Linked DNA regions of Homo sapiens: regions 2, 3, 4, 5 and 6 are each linked to region 1. The links are contacts of gene promoters, found by promoter capture Hi-C in blood cells and fetal thymus (Javierre and others, 2016). All regions are on one chromosome and are shown on one strand. Each heading gives the region's core, a stretch centred on a gene start or on the middle of the fragment in contact. The rest is flanking DNA. Distances are from core to core; before and after follow the strand shown. Region 1 holds the start of USP37 (ubiquitin specific peptidase 37). Region 2 overlaps PNKD (PNKD metallo-beta-lactamase domain containing). Region 3 holds the start of SLC11A1 (solute carrier family 11 member 1). Region 4 overlaps TTLL4 (tubulin tyrosine ligase like 4). Region 5 overlaps TTLL4 (tubulin tyrosine ligase like 4). Region 6 overlaps STK36 (serine/threonine kinase 36).

Region 1 (3,160 bases), core at 297-2,796:
AAGACACGTATTGGAAGTAGGATAGAACTTGGAGAGAGTAGAAGTCAAGAATGCCTCCCAAGTGTGTAGCCTGTGTCATGTGCCACTTAATAAACTGGGACACTGGAGAAGAAAGAATTTCGATATGGAGAGAAAGATCAAGGCTTTGGATTTGGCTGTGTTGCATCTGAAACTCCTAAGAAAAAAATCAAGTTGAGATGTCAAGCAGACAGCTGGCTATCTAGATGTGGAGCTGAAAACAAAGGGAATAGGCTGGAAATAACAATTTTTAAGTCATCAATATATAGATCAAATTTAAAGCTTAGGGAGGAATATAAGAGTAAAAGAAGAGGACCTAGGACTGAACCCAAATACTCATTTTACTTCATCAAACATCTTTAAGACAAGTGAGTACTTTTATATCACTGGGTTTTTCAGTCCTCCTTCCATTTTACCTTTCAGCAGAATGCAACACTACTGATGACTTTTTTCATGGCTTGCAAGACGCATCCTCCTCTATTGGTTATTAAACAGCAGGAATTCGTCAATGCTCCATCCTAGGTGCCTTTATTTTACAGCACTATACTCTTTTTCGGCAATTTCATCCACATCCATGGCTTCAATTACTATCAATATGGCAGATGACAAACACATACACACACCGCGCACATTTACGTACGCAGCCCAGAACTCTCCTAAGATCTCCAAACCCACTATATCCAACTGCCTACTTGACATTCCCTCTCAGGTATCTCTTCCAGTTAGACACTTGTCAGGAATTGCCACCTCAATAAAGGAATTTATACAGAGCTGAAATTTTGAGAGGAATACCCCAAAACCACTTTAGGACAACTCTTCAGGACACAGGATTTTATCATCAATCATCATTTCCTTTCATGGATCATGACTTAAAATAGTTACATCTAACAACCTGATCTGGCGGCTAGAAATGGGCGCAAGGAAATGCACAACAAAAATACAATTCATGTTTTGCAGTGAGGACTGGTCAAGAGGAAGGTGAAGATGGTCAAGAGAGTGAATGAGTATCATGTCCAAGGCCTGGTGGATGTGCCGTAACGAAAGTCACCTGAAGAGACAGCAGGCCCTGTTAGAAGGTAAGAGGCGAACGACAACAGCCCCAGAGAAAAGGGGCCAGGTTTGAGTTTCGGAGGGAGCGAGTGGCAGTGGAGACCAAGTCAAAGGAGAGGTGGAAGCCGGGGCAGTGCACCCAAAGGTAGTACCTGTGAGGCTGGGGGTGCATCGAGGGGTTGTGGGCGGGCTGAGTAGCAGCAGGGCGAACTCCAGAGGAGTGAACGCCGAGTGGGCGGATCGCACAGAAGGAGGAGGAGGTAGGGAAAACGGCTCAATTGAGAAGCTACCCCGGCCCGCCTTACCTGCGCCGAGGGTCCGGAGCCCCCGGACAGACCCGCGGAAAGCACGGAGCCCGCGAGGAGTGGGAGGAGCCGAGGGTAATGGAAGTAGGGATACCGAACCCAAAGGAGGGAGGCCGCTAGCTACCCCTAGTCAGGGAGAGCGGCTGATGGCGGGAACTGTGACCACACGCAAACACGCACGCACGCACGCACACTCGACGCGACCAGACAGGCGCGTGCGCGTCAGTCGAAAACTCCGCCCCTCACACGCCCTCGCCCCGCCCCGCCAGTACCTAGAGCGGCCTAGCCCGGGCAGCCCCGCCCCTGCCGTGACTGTAGTAGGCACGCGCACTTTCCACCTCACCCGATTTCGACGCCCCCCCACCATTTCCCTCCTACGCAACCCAGTCGGGCATGCGCAATAGTTGTCTTGCCGGGACTGTCCATCTTTTCCCGCCGTTCACTGGCTTTTGGAGGAGGGTCAGAGTTCACGCCGCTCTCTGGAAATAACTGCTCAAAGCCAGAAGTTGCGGGGACTAGTGGTCGCGGACGTCCTTCCGGTCCTAAATCTTAAGGGGCAAAGGACATACTCTGGGACTGTTAACTAGGCCCTGGAGGCGGGAAGAGGATGTGTGGGTGGGGTCAGGGGTGAGAGGTCAGAGGGCCGCGAAGTGGGCGGAGCGAGCCGGAGTCGGATGGCGGCTACGGCGGCTCATTGTTTTCCGCTGCAGGGGTGCTGAAGGGGGGACGCGGGTCGGACGCGTCCGGCTGTGGAAGAGAGCGGCGGCCGCTCACAACATGCACAGCCTGGCGACGGCTGCGGTGAGTGGCTGGGCCCCCAGGCTTGGAACCAGAATCCTTTCTCAGACCCACGTTTCGGCCTTCTCTCCTAATTCCCGGTGTCGGGTCCCTAGTCTGATTTTTTTCTGCCCTCAATCTCCAAGGCCCCGGTTCCCCTCCTCGGCACGCTTTGGTTGTGGTGGAGCCGGCCCCTATTTCCTTGCCGGACGCCTCTCGCGGCCTTCAGCGCGACCCATCGCGTTCTTTGCGGGCGCCGGGGCCTGGTCCCACGCCCGTAGCAGGCCATTCATTGATTTATTGCGCTGACCAACAGTTTCAGGGCGCCAGTTGTGTTCTGGGCGCCGGCGTCGATGAGGGGAATTCCATGGTCAATCTGACGCGGCCCCTGCTCTTAGAACTCACCACGTCGCAGCGGGAAGGAAATGGCTTCTAGTTCAAACCACTTGCTTTATTTATGGAAAACCTGAGGCCCGGAAAAGTGCATAATTTTTGCATCTGACTTAGGTTCTCTGCATTTAAAACTTTTCCTCGACACATCTCGTTTTACCCGCGTGATCTTTTAACAAAAAAGAAAGATAGTGTAATTCAGCTATCCGAAGTAATCCTACTTCTCTTGGCATTTAAATAAAATCTAGACTCCTTGCCATAGCCTGCACGGCCCTGTATGATGTGGTACTTAACCCACGTTTATAATCTCGTTTTATGTCTCTTGCTCCTAAAGCTTCAGCTACTCTGGCCACCTAACCCTCTGCAACGCGCTTATTTTTCTCCAAGATGCACTTTGTGGTCTCTATGCCTGGAGTGAATGTTCTTCTTATCCCTCCTCCTTTACATACACAGCATGAGTGTAATTGGTACCTCTTCCTTGAACTCTCCTTCCTCTCCTTAAACTGTTTATCCAAATCCATCTTTCTTCAGGTCTCTGCCTAAATCGGTCTCAGAGTGGCCTTCCCTGACTATCCTCTTCAAATTAGTTCCGCAGCCTCTAACTTTAGTAGAGTACCCTT
Region 2 (3,160 bases), core at 490-2,989, 220 kb before region 1:
ACTGGAGTCTGGAGTGTGGAGCCCCACAGTCTTGCAGGTCACATGCTCTCCTTGCACATCTGGCCTGGTTGTACCCACTGGCCTCTGCCTCTGCCCTGGGCCAAAAGGGCCCCTCCTTGCCAGGGGAGAGACAGCCACGGTCCTCTTTGGCCGATGCTGTATTCTCATTTTGGCCCTTGTTCTTAGGCCCGTCTGCCCGCCTTCCTCCATCTAACCTTTCCTGTTTTATCCGCAGCCCTTTTCTTCTTTGAGTTAGTAAAGATTTATTCTGTAACCTGACACTCATCTGGCCCTTTGCAGTTTGCCAGCCATATTCCCATGTGATTTCCCACTGGATCCAGGCCCCCATCCGGCTGGCAGGAGGGGGCTCTGACGTGCAGGTTGGAAATCAGAAGTCTGTGAGAGCGCGGGAGTGCATGGCAGCTCTGGGTCCCAGACCTGGCCCGACCCCTCTGCTTCACCTCCAGCTCTGCTGCTCCTCTACTCTTGGGTCGAGATCCCTTTGGAGCCACAGCGAGGAACCCTGTGGTCCTCAGGCAGGTGTACCTTGAGTCAGCCAGGAGCCCTCTTTTCCTGTGTCAAAGCCTGCCCTCGGGCTCTGCTCACCTCTGGTGACCCTCCAAGATGCCCCTGCCCTCAGTTTCCCCTCATGATCTGGCCTCTGCCCCCTTCTCTAGCCACAGCCTCTAGTACACTTTAGCAATACCACCAGACTAGTTAGAGTTCCCCACTCACCAAGCAAGACATGCAGTTTCATGCCTCTGTGCCTTCGCTCATGCTGTTTCTTCCGACTGGAATGCCTTCCCCTGCTCCTCCTGCCTTGTCTGCCTGGCAAGTTCATCTCTCACGATCCCCTCAAAGGCCCCCTCCTCCAGGAAGGCAACCCCTGTGCCCCTCCCCTCCAGGCTACCTCTGCACTTTGTCAATGCTTCTCTTGTGGCACTTATCACACTGTATTTTACTTGTTTACATGTTTGTCTCCCCTTCTAGACTGTGAATCCTTAAGGGCATGGACTGTATCTTATGCATCTCTGTATTTCTGCGCCTAGCACGGTGCCTAGCACACAGTAGGCGCTCAATAAATGTTGAATGAATGAATGATTTAATCAAGACTTGATCACCCAACAGCTTGTCTTTGTTGCTACATGAGTGAAAACAGCAGAGAACTTTCTCACAGTTTTCCCATCTCAGTTCCAGGCCTGCTAACTTGCAGTTAGGCACTTCAAGAGTTTTGATCAGAAATGATGCCCAAAGGCTGGGCGCAGTGGCTCACACCTATAATCCCAGCTCTTTAGGAGGCTGAGGCGGGTGGATCACAAGGTCAGGAGTTCGAGACCAGTCTGGCCAACATAGTGAAACCTCATCTGTACTACAAATACAAAAAATTAGCCAGACATAGTGGCAGGAGCCTATAATCCCAGCTACTCAGGAGGCTGAGGCAGGAGAATCACGTGAACCCAGGAGGCGGAGGTTGCAGTGAGCCGAGATCGCACCACTGCACTCCAGCCTGGGCGACAGAATGAGACTCTGTCTCAAAAAAAAAAAAAATTTTTTTAAAAAGAGAGAGAGAAATGATGCCTAAAATATGTTCTTCCCAAGGCCCATGGGCATTTGTTCAGGGTTTACGATTTGCTTATCTCAATGTTTCCCAAAGCTTGAGATACACAAGTGTACCACTGGCCAAAGTAGGGTGGCTGTACATGGCCACAGCACAGCAATCAATTGGACTTCAAGGACACGGTCTTGGCACTAGTCTGTCTTTAATGTCTTTGGAAAGAAAGACCCGGGATCCAGGTTCATACTTTAGTTGGGAAATGTCTGTAGTTAAGCTTTAACAACATCGTTTTGTTTTCATTATATTTATATTTGGGTTCAATATTTATTTTTGACAAGTGACACTGGTTTTCAGTTCATAAAAATGATTAAAGGGCCGGGCGTGGTGGCTCACGCCTGTAATCCCAGCACTTTGGGAGGCTGAGGCAGGCGGATCACGAGGTCAGGAGATCACGACCATCCTGGCCAACATGGTGAAACCCCGTCTCTACTAAAAATACAAAACTTAGCAAGGCATGATGGTGAGCGCCTGTAATCCCAGCTACCCAGGAGACTGAGGCACGAGAATCGCTGAACCCGGGAGGCAGAGGTTGAAGTAGGCCAAGATCGCACCACTGTACTCCAGCCTGGGCAACAGAGGGAGATTCTGTCCCAAAAAAAAAAAAGATGAAATTTGGGTGGGGACAAAAAGCCACACCATATCATTATAATAGAACAACTTATATTCCTTTGGGTATATAACCAGTAATGGGATTGCTGGGTCGAATGGTAGTTCTGTCTTTAGGTCTTTGAGGAAACACCACACTGTCTTCCACTTTGGTTGAACAAATTTACACTCCCGCCAACAGTGTATAAGCGTTCCTTTTACTCTACAACCTTTCCAGCGTCTGTTATTTTTTGACTTTTTAATAACAGCCATTCTGACTTGTGTGAGATGGTATCTCATTGTGGTTTTGATTTGCATTTCTCTAATGATGAGTGATGTTGAGCTTTTATTCATATGTTTGTTGTCCACATGTATGTCTTCTTTTATTTATTTATTTATTTATTTTTAATTGATCATTCTTGGGTGTTTCTCGCAGAGGGGGATTTGGCAGGGTTATAGGACAATAGTGGAGGGAAGGTCAGCAGATAAACAAGTGAACAAAGGTCTCTGGTTTTCCTAGGCAGAGGACCCTGCGGCCTTCCGCAGTGTTTGTGTCCCTGGGTACTTGAGATTAGGGAGTGGTGATGACTCTTAACGAGCATGCTGCCTTCGAGCATCTGTTTAACAAAGCACATCTTGCACCGCCCTTAATCCATTTAACCCTGAGTGGACACAGCACATGTTTCAGAGAGCACAGGGTTGGGGGTAAGGTCATAGATCAACAGCATCCCAAGGCAGAAGAATTTTTCTTAGTACGGAACAAAATGGAGTCTCCTATGTCTACTTCTTTCTACACAGACACAGCAACAATCTGATTTCTCTATCTTTTCCCCGCATTTCCCCCTTTTCTATTCCACAAAACCACCATCGTCATCATGGCCCGTTCTCAATGAGCTGTTGGGTACACCTCCCAGATGGGGTGGCCGCCAGGCAGAGGGGCTCCTCACTTCCCAGAAGGGG
Region 3 (3,160 bases), core at 368-2,867, 190 kb before region 1:
AGTGCTGGGATTACAGGCATGAGCCACCACACCCGGTCATGCCCAGCTAATTTTTAAATTTTTTGTAGAGATGAGATCTCACTATGTTGCCCAGGCTGGTCTCAAACTCCTGTGAGCCCCTCAGTTAATAGAAGAAACAGTCAAGCATGGTGGCATAGGTCTGTATTCCCAGCTACCCGAGAGGCTGAGAAGGGAGGCTCTCTTGAGCTCAAGAGTTTAAGGCTATATGCCAGGCATGGTGGCTCACACCTGTAATCCCAGCACTTTGGGAGGTTGAGGTGGGTGGATCACTTGAGACCAGGAGTTCGAGACCAGCCTGGCCAACATAGTGAAACCCCGTCTCTACTAAAAAAAATACAAAAATTGGCTGGGCACAGTGGCTCACACCTGTAATCCCAGCACTTTGGGAGACTGAGGCGGGCGGATCACAAGGTCAGGAGTTTGAGACCAGCCTGGCCAACATGGTGAAATCCCATCTCTACTAAAAATACAAAAATTAGCCAGGTGTGGTTGGCAGGTGCCTGTAATCCCAGCTACTCAGGAGGCTGAGGAAGAAGAATTACTTGAACCCAAGAGGCAGAGGTTTCGGTGAGCCAAGGTCGCGCCATTGCACTTCAGCCTGGGTGACAGAGCAAGACGCCATCTCAAAGTAAATAAATACATACATACATACATACATACAAAAAGTAGCCGGGTGTGGTGGTGCATGCCTGTAGTCCCAGCTACTCAGGAGGCTGAGGCAGGAGAATTGCTTAAACATGGAGGACAGAGGTTGCAGTGAGCTGAGATTATGCCACTGCACTCCAGTCTGGGCAACAGAGTAAGACTCTGTCTCAAAAAAAAAAAAAAAAGGAGTTTGAGGCTGCAGTAAACTAAGATGGCACCACTGCACTTCACACCTCACTCTAGCCTGGGTGACAGAGCGAGACCTTGTCTCTAAAAAAAAAAACAAAAAACGAAAAACCAAAAAAAAAAAGGGTGGGGGTGGAATAGAATAAACAACTCTGAGAAGGGACATGATCTGGTGACAATCTCAAGTGAATCAGTGGTTGAACCAGGACCAGATCCCAGTGCCCCATCTTCTGGGGACGTCCTGGGTCTGAATCTTCAATGCATGTCCCTTCTGCAGTGCCTTCCTCTGTGGCCCTCAAAGGGAAACTGAAGCCTTTGAGGACATGAAGACTCGCATTAGGCCAACGAGGGGTCTTGGAACTCCAGATCAAAGAGAATAAGAAAGACCTGACTCTGTGTGTGTGTACGTGTGTGTGTACGTGTGTGTGTGTGTGTGTGGCAGAGGGGGGTGTGGTCATGGGGTATTGACATGAATACGCAAGGGGCAGGAAGCATCTGAAATCAGAGCTAACTTGGGAGGCACAGAACACGGGGTGCCTGGAAGGGGAACAGATGTGTTGTGGGGCACAGGGCAGGCTGGGAGGGGAACAAAGGTCCACTCCATGGGTAACCAGACCCTTCCGCCAGGGCTGGCCACTTCTGCCTTTGGAAAATGTTTCACAACGCCCCATGTTGTGTGTGTGTGTGAATCGGCCGATGTGAACCGAATGTTGATGTAAGAGGCAGGGCACTCGGCTGCGGATGGGTAACAGGGCGTGGGCTGGCACACTTACTTGCACCAGTGCCCAGAGAGGGGGTGCAGGCTGAGGAGCTGCCCAGAGCACCGCTCACACTCCCAGAGTACCTGAAGTCGGCATTTCAATGACAGGTGAGTAGTGGCCCCTAGGGACAGAGCCTGATTGGGGGGTGGAGTGGAGGAGATCACTAGGCTGGTGGAGACTTGAGGAAGCAAGAAAGCCCTTGGTCCCCTGTGGAAGCCTCTGGTCCCCCGTGGGAGTCCTAGTCTAGAACACAGTTCTGGACACCAGACTCAATCTCACTGGGTGGAGTCCTTCACACCCCTAAGCGGTCTACCTTTCCTTTGTCTGAAGTCCGTGGATCAAAGCCCCTGGAGCTTTCTGGGCTGCCGGAGAAGGTGAGGGGTCCAGCCAAGGGGCAGACATGTGGCCTCAGCTTGCCCTTCTTAGAGCCTAGGGTCTCTCTGCATTCTCTGTGGCAGGAGATCTGCCTCTGGGCATCTGTCCTCACATGAGAGGACAGTAATTCTGAAGCTGCCATGTCCCACACATCTGGAATGTTTGTTTGAGAGGTGGAGGTGATGGACCCAAGATGGGGGCCAGGGACCTTAGTTTCTCCACTTTTCCGGGAGGAGGAGGGAAAGGATCAGGCGGCTTTAACTCTGGGCCACCAGAAAGAGGCAGGACACTCACCATGCTTCATGGGCCCCCACAGGTGACAAGGGTCCCCAAAGGCTAAGCGGGTCCAGCTATGGTTCCATCTCCAGCCCGACCAGCCCGACCAGCCCAGGGCCACAGCAAGCACCTCCCAGAGAGACCTACCTGAGTGAGAAGATCCCCATCCCAGACACAAAACCGGTGGGATGCTGGAAACTTCCTGGGGGCTTGCAAGATTGACAGGATCCTGAAGGATCCCATGGGCTGGAGAATGGGGTCTCCTTATGATCATGGGTGGCAAGTCCCTTCCAGGTCTGAGCAGCAGTGGTGGACAGTGGCAACTGCCCCTTCCTGCTTCCGTCCCCAGTGCTTAGCTGGGGTGCTTCAGTATTTGTCTAAAAGCGATTAAATGACTTTCTCAATGAATCTCAGCTTTCCTATGAAGGAAAAGAGGCCCAGGGGGAATTGGGATTGGAGCCTTGAGGACATGTTATAGCATTTAGGAAAGGGCATAGGGAGAAGTGAAGGAGGCTGCAGGCTGGCATCTAGCATCTAGGATGCTGTCACCTGCATTTCCAGTATCTTCTCTTTTTTTGGAGATGGAGTCTCGCTCTGTAGCCCAGGCTGGAGTGCAGTGGCGCGATCTCAGCTCACTGCAACCTCCGCTTCCCAAGTTTAAGCGATTCTCCTGCCCCGGCCTCCCGAGTAGCTGGGATTACAGGCATGCACCACCATGCCAGGCTAATTTTTGTATTTTTACTAGAGACAGGGTTTCACCATGTTGGCCAGGCTGGTCTCAAACTCCTTAGCTCAAGTGATCCACCCACCTCGGCCTTCCAAAGTGCTGGGATTACAGACACGAGCCAACGCTCCCAGCCTCCAATATCTTCAGCAGATTTCTAAGTCAATATGCC
Region 4 (3,160 bases), core at 169-2,668, 170 kb after region 1:
AGATGTAAGGTTGAGGAGCTATGCCTAGACCTAAGCTTTGAAGACAAAAGAAATGAGTTGTGAGGTCCAGGCAAGAAGTAGCAGATTGGTAATGGAGAAGGGGCAAATACTGGGAGATGATGAAGGAATGAGAATCTAACTGTGACCTCTTTGATGGAGTTGACTAGGCTGGGGGCATGATTCTTTCTTTTAGTTCAGCTACTGACCTCCAGCCAGATCAGGCTGAGACTGAAGATACAGAAGAAGAACTAGTAGATGGTTTGGAAGACTGTTGTAGCCGTGATGAGAATGAAGAGGAGGAGGGTGAGTAGGAAACCCTTTCACTTCCAACTAGGAGTTGGTTATGACCTGTTGGGCAGGGGGCTGACAATTGTGTACTAGGTCCTTGACTCACATTACCTACATCAGTCATTTGCTTTGGGGGTCTTAAGTGGGGGTAGTGCCTTCTAGAGGACTTGGGTCTCTAGTCCTCCTGTCCCACTGGTCTTACCTTCCCGCTGCTTCTGTTGAGGAAGGCAGTGCAAAGCAGCGGGGTGGTGCTTGTGGCTCCCCAAGAAGGGTTGAGCCCAGGATATTCAAGGAAGAGTTGCCTAGGCTTGGTAAGTTTGTGCTGCAGCCTCTTCTAGTCAGAATTTCTCTGTTCTTCCTTCCTCTAGGAGACTCAGAGTGCTCCTCATTAAGTGCTGTCTCCCCCAGCGAATCGGTGGCCATGATCTCTAGGTAAGTGTGGCTGTATAGATCATTGTTACATGCTCATCTTTTGTCTCTTAAAGATTATAAAGAGATAAACCACTCAAGTCATTAATGGCCTGGAGAACTCTAATGCATTTTTACCAAATTTTTATGTTTGCGACTTTAGTTTTTGAACAGGGAGTAATGGGGGGCCAGAAGCACATCTCATCTGTGGGGCTTAAAAACAGTATCATGGGCCAGGCGCAGTGGCTCACACCTGTAACCCCAGCACTTTGGAAGCTGAGGCAGGCGGATCTCCTGAGGTCAGGAGTTCGAGACTAGCCAAGCCAACATGGCAAAACCCTGTCTCTACTAAAAATATAAAAATTAGCAAGGTATGGTGGTGCACACCTGTAATCCCAGCTGCTCGGGAGGCTGAGGCACGAGAATCACTTGAACCTGGGAAGTGGAGGTTGCAGTGAGCTGAGATCGCGCTGCTGCACTCCAGCCTGGGTGATGGAGCAAGACTTTGTCTCAAAAACAAAACAACAACAACAACAACAGTATAATGGGCTGGGCGCAGTGGCTTATGCCTGTAATCCTAACACTTTGGGAGACTAAGATGGGTGGATCACTTGAGGCCAGGAGTTAGAGACCAGGCTGGCTAACGTGGTGAAACCCCATCTCTACTAAAAATGGAAACAATTAGCTGGGTATGGTGGCACACACCTGTAATCGTTGGCCTCCCAAAGTGCTCGGATTATAGGGCTGAGCCACTGCACCTGGCCCTAACTTTTAATTAAAACCTGTATATCACTGGGCTTGACCAATATATGGAGCACCCAGAGTCGGGTTGTTTTTCTTTGCATCAACCCTGCCTTAGATGAAGCTAAGAAGAAAGTGAGCCTTCTCTGCCTCGTTTAGCATGGACAAGACAGGCTGCATCTCTGTGAAATGTTATGGTGTGGCAGCAGCACACCAATTTTAGAGCCCCTAACCTGCAAGGTGGAGACAGAGCTGTTTGGAAAGTGGGAGCGAGAACTGGGATTCTCTGTGAAGGTGGATAGAAATCCCATCACGGGCACCCTGAGTCTGATGCATAAATTGTCACTTTCAGCCCAACCCATCCTCCTTCCAGAAAAGCAGAACTACTTCAGGTTATATATATTGGATATTGATTAAGTACCTCCACTCTTCATAGGAGAAAGATATTTGACATGTAATTGATTTGGAGTCCTACCTTTTTTACACTTAAGGGCCTACTTCAGGACTGCTACACAACCCTTTAGCCTTCCTGATATATAAGATAAAATTCACAAAAGGTGTTTGTTAATCATTTGCTCATTAATTAATTAACTTCTACAAATTGCACATAACTTTTTCTCTATATGAGGCTTAAACATAATTTTCAAGAAAATGGAAATATATATTTTTATTTTTTAGAGTCAGAGTCTTGCTCTGTTGCCCAGGCTAGAGTGCAGTGGATCCATCATAGCTTACTGTAACCTCGAACTCCTGGGCTCAAGCAATACTCCTGCCTCAGCCTCCTGAGCAGCTGGGACTACAGGACCACCCACCACACCCAGCTAATTAAAAAAAATTTTTTTTGTAGAGTTGTGGGGGAAGGTCTCATTATATTACCCAGGCTTGTCTTGAACTCTGGCCTCAAGTAATCCTCTTGCTTTAGCCTCCCAAAGCACTGAGATTAGTGGTCTGAGCCATTGCACCTGACCAAAAATGGAGATAGATGAATTCCAAACCACTTTGCATTTTAAAGATGAGTAAAATACTTTTGGATTGCTAAAATCTTATTTTTTCTCTATTATGAAACATTTGTATATTATGGAAAATTTGGCAACCACTGAAAAACAGAAAAATCATTGGAAACACTACCTGTTTCTTTACACAGCAGTACTTTCATTGCATTTCCTGTTGTTGTGCTCTAAGAATCATGTAATTTTAGAGATGGAAGCCATCAAGTCCAGTGTAAATATTGAGGACCAGAGAAGTGAAGCAGCTGTTCCAAGGTCATAGTTTCTAGCATGGCTAGACTAGAAGCCAGGTCTCTTGAGGAGAAGTTCAGGATTCTTGTGAGACAACTCACAAGGGTTTTTTGTTTGTTTTTTAAATTAAGCTTGTGATATTGAGATAATTATAGATTTCACATGCAGTTGTAAGAAAGAATGCAGAGAGGTCCCCTGTACTGTCTACTCAGTTTCCCCCATTGGGTAACATCTTGCAGAAGTACAATATAGTACACTTGGGATGTTGTTAACATTGTTAGAGTCAAGATATAGAACATCTTGCCGGGTGCAGTAGCTCACGCCTGTAACCCCAGCACTTTGGGAGGCTGAGGCAGGTAGATGAGTTGAAGTCAGGAGTTTGAGACCAGCCTGGCCAACATGGTGAAACCCCATGTTTTACTAAAATACAACATATTTTACTAAAAATACAAAAATTAGCTGGGCGTGATGGTGGGCGCCTATAA
Region 5 (3,160 bases), core at 389-2,888, 150 kb after region 1:
TAAGAGAAAATTAATGTGATTCCTACACTCCTCTCTATTTGGTTCCAGGCAAGTCAGTTCTATCTTCTTCTTTTTTTTTTTTTTGGAGACAGAGTCTTGCTCTGTCACCCAGGCTGGAGTGCAGTGGCACAGTCTCGGCTCACTGCAAGCTCCGCCTCCCGGGTTCAGGCCATTCTCCTGCCTCAGCCTCCCAAGTAGCTGGGACTGCAGGCGTCTGCCACCACGCCTTTTGTATTTTTAGTAGAGATGGGGTTTCACCGTGTTAACCAGGATGGTTTTGATCTCCTGACCTCGTGATCCACCTGCCTCAGCCTCCCAAAGTGTTGGGATTACAGGCGTGAGCCTGTCAGTTCTATCTTCTAACATAACTGTTGAGCAGTTGAGGTAATCTCATCAGAGATCTTGTGGACTGTAGACTGAACCATTTCTGATGTCCTGAGTTTCCCTGGTGACCGAGGGAAACACCTAGTTGAAGGAGGAAAGGGAAACTGCATTTCCCAAGAGCCACACTCTCTTGTAGGAGAGTGATTTAATTAGTGGGTAATGAATAATTGCTTTCTCTAGAAATAGATACCTTGTCCAAGTTGGTCTGGGCCTGGTCCCTGGAGACTTGTTGGTTTGCGACAGCAGCAATAGATTTTCTTTTCTTTTTTTTTTTTCTTTTGAGACGCAGTTTCACTCTTGTTGCCCAGGCTGGAGTGCAATGGCGCAATCTCGGCTCACCGCAACCTCTGCCTCCCAGGTTCAAGCGATTCTCCTGCCTCCACCTCCCAAGTAGCTGGGATTACAGGCATGCACCACCATGCCTGGCTAGTTTTGTATTTTTAGTAGAAATGGGGTTTCTCCATGTTGCTCAGGCTGGTTTCGAACTCTCGACCTCAGGTGATCTGCCCACCTCGGCCTCCCAAAGTACTGGGATTTCAGGCATGAACCACTGCGCCCGGCCAGCAATAGATTTTCTAACATAGGCTACTAATCATTCACACTCCTTTAAGGAGGAAACTTGAGGCAAAATCACCCCATAAAGATTGGAGGACAGAACTGTATAGGCAGTTTCCAAATGCTGCATGAAGATGACAAAGTAGGATGTTCAGATTCCTGAGAATGGGTGTTTTAAAGGGGAGAGTCTGGAGCCAGGGACATCAGTCAGGCTGCTTACCTTAACAGTCCTGCACTTGGTGTTAGAGGGGTTGGAGACTGGGCTGAGGCAGCCATGCAAATAGAAGGGGATGTTTCAGGCCATTTTGTTGATCCATACAACTTTCTGCAGTTTTTTATTCTTCACTCTTACCCCTTTATTCAAGTTTTATTTTTATTTTTAACAGTTTTGTGGAGGTATAATTCACATTGAACATATCCATCGTTTCTAAGTCAATTTTTTAAAAACTTTTGTTCTAGGAAGACTTAGTGTTCCATAAAGTTGTTGGGGGAGGAGACTTGGGCAATATTGCTAATAGGAGGCCAAACTGGACCAGGGTTCTTCCCACCCCCTTCTGCCAGCGTGGCTCTGTATTTGAGGTTAAAGATCCCCAGAGATTTCCTATAAAAGCCATCATGAAGCTTATAGGGCATATCACTAGGGTAAGTGAACAGTGGTGTGAGATAGCCTTGGGAAAGTATCACGTGAGAGGGACACACAACAGGTGCTCGTGGAGAGGGTGGGTCTTGAGCTGGGTCTGGAAAAGGTAAATAAAATATGGTAAGGATTCACAAGGAAGAAGCTTAGTGGAGTAAAGCCCTGCAGACAGGCATTTGAAAGGTTTATTCCAGGAATTTAGTGTAAGACCAGCGCAGTTCACATAACAGAGTTCAAGGTAGGAGGAAATGGAAATAAGCCTTAAAAAAAAAAAAAAAAAGATTAAGGGTCGACTATGGAGTCTTGTGGACCAAAGCTAAGAAATCTCACATGACAGTCATCTGGAATGCTTGTTAAAACTGCAGACTCATGGCCCTACTCCACACCAACTGAATCCTCTTGAAGGTGAATCTCAGGACTTTGCATCTCAGGTTATTCTGATGCAGGTGGGCCACCACAGTGTTTAGTAAGTGCTCATGGACCGTTTTTGAAAAGGGATTGACCTGATGAAGCAATACAGCAAAATTAATCTGGAGGTTGCCTGCAGGGTGGAATTAGGAAGGGCACACCTTGGAGACACATGCTTCAGTCAGTGCTGTTGCAGTAAGTCCAGATCTAGGGGCATGGTGGAAATAATAAAAGGAGGAAGAATGCTAAGTAGACAGAGTGTCTTAAATTTCATGACTGGTTTCCCTTTGGGGAAATAAAGTAAAGGAAAAAGTCAGAAATAACTTAGTTTTCCTCTTAGGTGATTTGGAGAAAGAAGGGTCCACTCAAGGAAATGGGACGATCAGGAGTGGAGAGCTAGTTTGACACACTAGATTGAAGTGGTTGGACATGCATTTGGAAAGGTGGAACAGGCAGTTGGTGATGCAGACATGAAACTTGAGACGACAAATCTGCAAAATGACTCTTCTGCAGATAATAGTTGACATTGTGAGAGAGATTGATTTGATGTGGGGGAGGATGAAAGAACTGGAGGATTTTGGATTGGCCTCAGGAGGAGGAAAGACACTATTGAAGGGGTTGGGTACAGCTGTGGCAGAGTGCACGCACTGAGTAAAAAATAGCAACAAGGAGATGGTGGTAAGAGGGGAACGCCTTTTTCATATGAATAGGTCCAACTCGTGGCTTTGCTGATGTGATATTGTGATATAATAAGAAATACTCCAGCCTGGTCAGCATGGTGAAACCCTGTCTCTACAAAAATACAAAAATTATCCGGGCACGATGGCGGGTGCCTGTAATCCCGGCTATTCGGGAGGCTGAGGCGGGAGAATTGCATGAACGCGGGAGGCAGAGGTTGCAGCGAGCCGAGATCGTACCATTGCACTCCAGCCTGGGCAACACAGTGAGACTCCGGTCTCAAAAAAAAAAAAAAAAAGAAAGAAATACATAATTGGGGTGTGCCCCTGGTTCCTGGCTCCTAAAACCTTCAGAACTTGTAAGTGATAAGTGTCTTTTTATATGCTAATGAGATGATTGATAGCTGGGGACTCCTGAATAGCCTCAAGATGGGAGGCTGATTGCCGAGAGAACCAACCATGTGATTAGAGGGTTGGAACTTTCAGTTCCATCCCCCAC
Region 6 (3,160 bases), core at 179-2,678, 130 kb after region 1:
TGGAGTGCAGTGGCGCGATCTTGGCTCACTGCAAGCTCTGCCTCCCGGGTTCACGCCATTCTGCCTCAGCCTCCCGAGTAGCTGGGACTACAGGCACCTGCCGCCACACCCAGCTAATTTTTTGTATTTTTTTTTTTTTTAGTAGAGACGGGGTTTCACCGTGATAGCCAGGATGGTCTCGATGTCCTGACCTCGTGACCCGCCCGCCTTGGCCTCCCAAAGTACGGGATTACAGGCATGAGCCACCTTGCCTGGCCGATGGTGAAGATCCTATAGGAATCTTGTGCAATCCATGGGGAAAATAATTAATGGGATTCTTGGTGGTAATGAGGTTAGAACTCACTGGTCTGCATTGAAGGCTAGGAATTAGACCTTTTGGCTTACTGTGAGTTACTGCTGCATTCATCAAGTCTTCCTGGGGACAAGTATATGTGTCCCTTAGTGCCTTGGTTTCATGGTCTATAACCAAAGAGAATGGAAGTAGACTTCTGGTCCTGATGATTCCTATCTCCAAGGTTTCTCTTCTGCCATTCAGTCTATTCCAAGTCCCCAAGAGCCCATTTCCTTTTTCTTCCTCTTCTCGAGTGGGAATTCCTGGGTAAATGAGAGTCCTCCGCACCTGCCCCAGACACCACCATTTCTGAGCCTCATGTTCTGTTCTATCATCTGTTCTCTATCCTACAGGTACTGGTGTCCCTGGGTGCCAGTGAGAAACTATCCTTGCTCTCTCTGGGGAATCAGTCACTGCCACACAGCAGTCCTAGGCCTGCCTCTGCCAAACACTGCAGGAAACTCATTCACCTCCTGAGGCCAGCCCATAGCATGTGATTCCAGATTCCTGCGGTCCAGCCTCCAACTTTGGTTGCCAGCTCTTTCTTATTCTACTACACAAGCCGCCAACTCAACTGAGAGCTAAAGAGACTAGAAAAGAGATAAGCTGCCAACTCAACTGAGAACAAGAAACTAGAAGAGATTTATATATAAAGCTTCTTCCTTCTCCCAGATGCAGGATGTTTTCAACCAGTAAATTTTATTGCTGTTGGTGCCAGAGAAGAGTCCTTTCTTCTCTACATCCAGGGGCCTTTTCTCCAATAATGTGCCTTTAACTCTAGGGACCTGCCTCACGGACCTTAGGGAAAAACCTCAACCTGAAAGATCTCTTCCTTTCTGGAGCTCCTTTAATCTTCCCAGCAGGTTTTTGCCTTAGACGTGCTGGCCCCAGGACAGTGATGAAGACAGAGCCTGTCTCAGCTCTAGGCTGTGGGGATCAATGCCATCAGTCCCTGTTATTGAGGGATTATCCCTTAGCCAACATTCCTATCTGTGGGTGGGCGTGGAGAGTGTATCTTTTTTTGGGGTGTGTGTGTATATGTGTGTGTGTATGTGTGTGTGTGTTTAATAGTTCTGTTTGTAAACTCTTTTAATAAAAGTTGTGCCTCACCATACTTGAAGCTCCCAGGACAAGGGTTGAGAGGCTCAACCCCTCTTTCAGCTTCTATGTGGTGTTGGAGGTGCTGGTATCGTGTTCACACAAGATCCTGGTCTGGCAGCTTATTTATATCATTTCTTGCCTTTACCAATTTCCCCCTTCCTAGATGAACTATATTTGGTTACCTACTTTCAAGTCAAGGCCGGTGGAGCTGAAATAGGAAAGGGTAAGATTCAACAGAGCGGTCAATTAGGTTGCTCAGACTTAGTGACTAATTTTAATATTTAGTGGAGTTCTAATGTGTAGGGACTCCAAGCTGCTGTAGAAGGATAGCTATTTTAAAGATTGTACAATTTACCAGAAAGGGCTTTTAGTCAGACCTGTTAGAATTATAATCTAACTGGAAGCATTGGAAAACCTTAACTCATTGGATGGCTTAGAACAAGCTTCCAGGGCCTTGATTTCTCCATCCATAAAATGAGGAGACTCCTTTCTGTCCTTCCTTAAATTCCAGTTGTTTTAGAAATGAAAGACAAGTAAAGTGCCCTTATTTTTATAAGAAATTTTGTTTAACCCTCATCTTCATTGTCCACAGTGTTTATACTTTAGCAAAAATAATATTTTTCTAGGGAGCACCATAATTTTCTTCTATCCAGATTATCTCAATTCAGTTCAATGTATATTTTTTGAGTCCTTTCTGTATGCCAGATACTATTCTAGGTACAGGAGATAAAACAGTGCCCATCATAGAGTTTCCATTCTGGTCGGGGAGATAGTGAAATTATTAAAAGAATAGTATGTAGGAAGGTGGTAAAAGCTATGGAGAAAAAGAAACCAGGGAAAGGAGATGAGGAGTGCTGAGTCGGATGGTCAGGGTAGGCCTCACTAGAAGGTGACACTTGAGAAAAGACTCGAAGGAGGCGAGGGAGTGAGTTGTGCACCTATTTTGGGGAAAAGCCAAGGCCCTGAGATGAAAGCATGCCTGGCATGCTTGAGGAGCTATGAGGAACCAGTATGGATTAAGTGAGTAAAGAAGGTGGAGAATAGTAGGAAATGAGACAGGAAGGTAATGGTGGGGGCCAGATATTGTAGGCTTTGTAGACCTTGGTGAAGACTTGGGCTCTTACTTTGAATGAAGGAGGCATCTATTGCAGGCTTTTGAACAGAGAATTTTATGAACTACCTTGCATCCTAAACGGATCATTCTTCATTCTGGTCTTGTGAATGGCTATGGGGAGTAGGGGAGAATGCGAAGTAGGATAAGCAGTTAGGAGGCTATTGTTATAATAATCCAGGCAAGAGACAATGGTGTCCTGGATGGCGACTGGGGTGATACCTATGGAGTGATAAAAAAGTAGTCAAATTTTGAATATATTTTGAACATGGAACAAACAGGATTTCTTGACTGATTGGAGGTGAGGGTATGACCAAAAGAAAGCAGTCAGGGATGACTCCAAGGTTTTTGGTCTGAGCAATTGGAAGAATGGAATTGTCATTCACTAAAATGGGGAAGGCTAGCAGTGGAGTGATAATGGGTGGGAATGAGTTCAATTGTGAACATCTTGTCTTTCAGTTGGAAATGTTTGAACACACACAGAGGTAGAGGATAGTTCAGTGTACTCCATCACTACTTGAGCAGCTACCATATCTATTTTGTTATTCTGGTGTTTGTTTGTTTTTGAGACAGGGTCTCGCTCTGTCACCCAGGCTGGAGGGCAGTGGCATGATCAT

Evidence for each region. The method cuts DNA at HindIII sites, captures the fragments that hold promoters and counts their contacts. A CHiCAGO score of 5 or more calls a contact.
Region 2: a fragment that was not itself captured here is called in contact with the fragment with the promoter of USP37 in region 1 in 3 of 17 cell types (total CD8 T cells, naive CD8 T cells and naive B cells); the score reaches 6.6 in total CD8 T cells.
Region 3: the fragment with the promoter of SLC11A1 here is called in contact with the fragment with the promoter of USP37 in region 1 in 2 of 17 cell types (neutrophils and monocytes); the score reaches 6.0 in neutrophils.
Region 4: a contact is called between a fragment that was not itself captured here and the fragment with the promoter of USP37 in region 1, in 1 of 17 cell types (monocytes). The highest score is 5.6, in monocytes.
Region 5: a fragment that was not itself captured here is called in contact with the fragment with the promoter of USP37 in region 1 in 2 of 17 cell types (naive B cells and total CD8 T cells); the score reaches 5.5 in naive B cells.
Region 6: a fragment that was not itself captured here is called in contact with the fragment with the promoter of USP37 in region 1 in 9 of 17 cell types (total CD8 T cells, naive CD4 T cells, fetal thymus and 6 more); the score reaches 7.2 in total CD8 T cells.

What each region holds. Positions count from the first base shown.
Region 1 is chr2:218,566,805-218,569,964 of GRCh38, forward strand. USP37 (ubiquitin specific peptidase 37) reads right to left here and starts at 1,547. Exons shown (of 26, transcript NM_020935.3): 1 at 1,374-1,547. CNOT9 (CCR4-NOT transcription complex subunit 9) reads left to right here and starts at 2,035. Exons shown (of 8, transcript NM_005444.3): 1 at 2,035-2,174. The coding sequence starts at 2,151. RefSeq lists enhancers at 1,390-2,017, 2,018-2,645, 2,440-2,629 and silencers at 1,510-1,579, 1,670-1,729. The HindIII fragment of the contact is 2,574 bases long and covers 299-2,872 here.
Region 2 is chr2:218,345,682-218,348,841 of GRCh38, forward strand. It overlaps PNKD (PNKD metallo-beta-lactamase domain containing), which reads left to right. Exons shown (of 10, transcript NM_015488.5): 10 at 1-1,112. The region is part of intron 2 of CATIP-AS2 (CATIP antisense RNA 2); the gene reads right to left. Among named protein-coding and RNA genes, the nearest start is that of MIR6810, 5.4 kb to the left of the region's middle. The HindIII fragment of the contact is 175 bases long and covers 1,653-1,827 here.
Region 3 is chr2:218,380,656-218,383,815 of GRCh38, forward strand. It overlaps SLC11A1 (solute carrier family 11 member 1), which reads left to right and starts at 1,618. Exons shown (of 15, transcript NM_000578.4): 1 at 1,618-1,720; 2 at 2,305-2,447. The coding sequence starts at 1,714. The HindIII fragment of the contact is 6,449 bases long and covers 1-3,160 here.
Region 4 is chr2:218,739,865-218,743,024 of GRCh38, forward strand. It overlaps TTLL4 (tubulin tyrosine ligase like 4), which reads left to right. Exons shown (of 20, transcript NM_014640.5): 4 at 194-303; 5 at 657-720. Among named protein-coding and RNA genes, the nearest start is that of TTLL4, 31 kb to the left of the region's middle. The HindIII fragment of the contact is 2,771 bases long and covers 34-2,804 here.
Region 5 is chr2:218,717,732-218,720,891 of GRCh38, forward strand. All of the region lies in intron 1 of TTLL4 (tubulin tyrosine ligase like 4), which reads left to right. Among named protein-coding and RNA genes, the nearest start is that of TTLL4, 8.5 kb to the left of the region's middle. RefSeq lists a silencer at 1,835-2,132. The HindIII fragment of the contact is 161 bases long and covers 1,559-1,719 here.
Region 6 is chr2:218,701,182-218,704,341 of GRCh38, forward strand. It overlaps STK36 (serine/threonine kinase 36), which reads left to right. Exons shown (of 27, transcript NM_015690.5): 27 at 685-1,534. The coding sequence ends at 828. Among named protein-coding and RNA genes, the nearest start is that of TTLL4, 8.1 kb to the right of the region's middle. The HindIII fragment of the contact is 889 bases long and covers 985-1,873 here.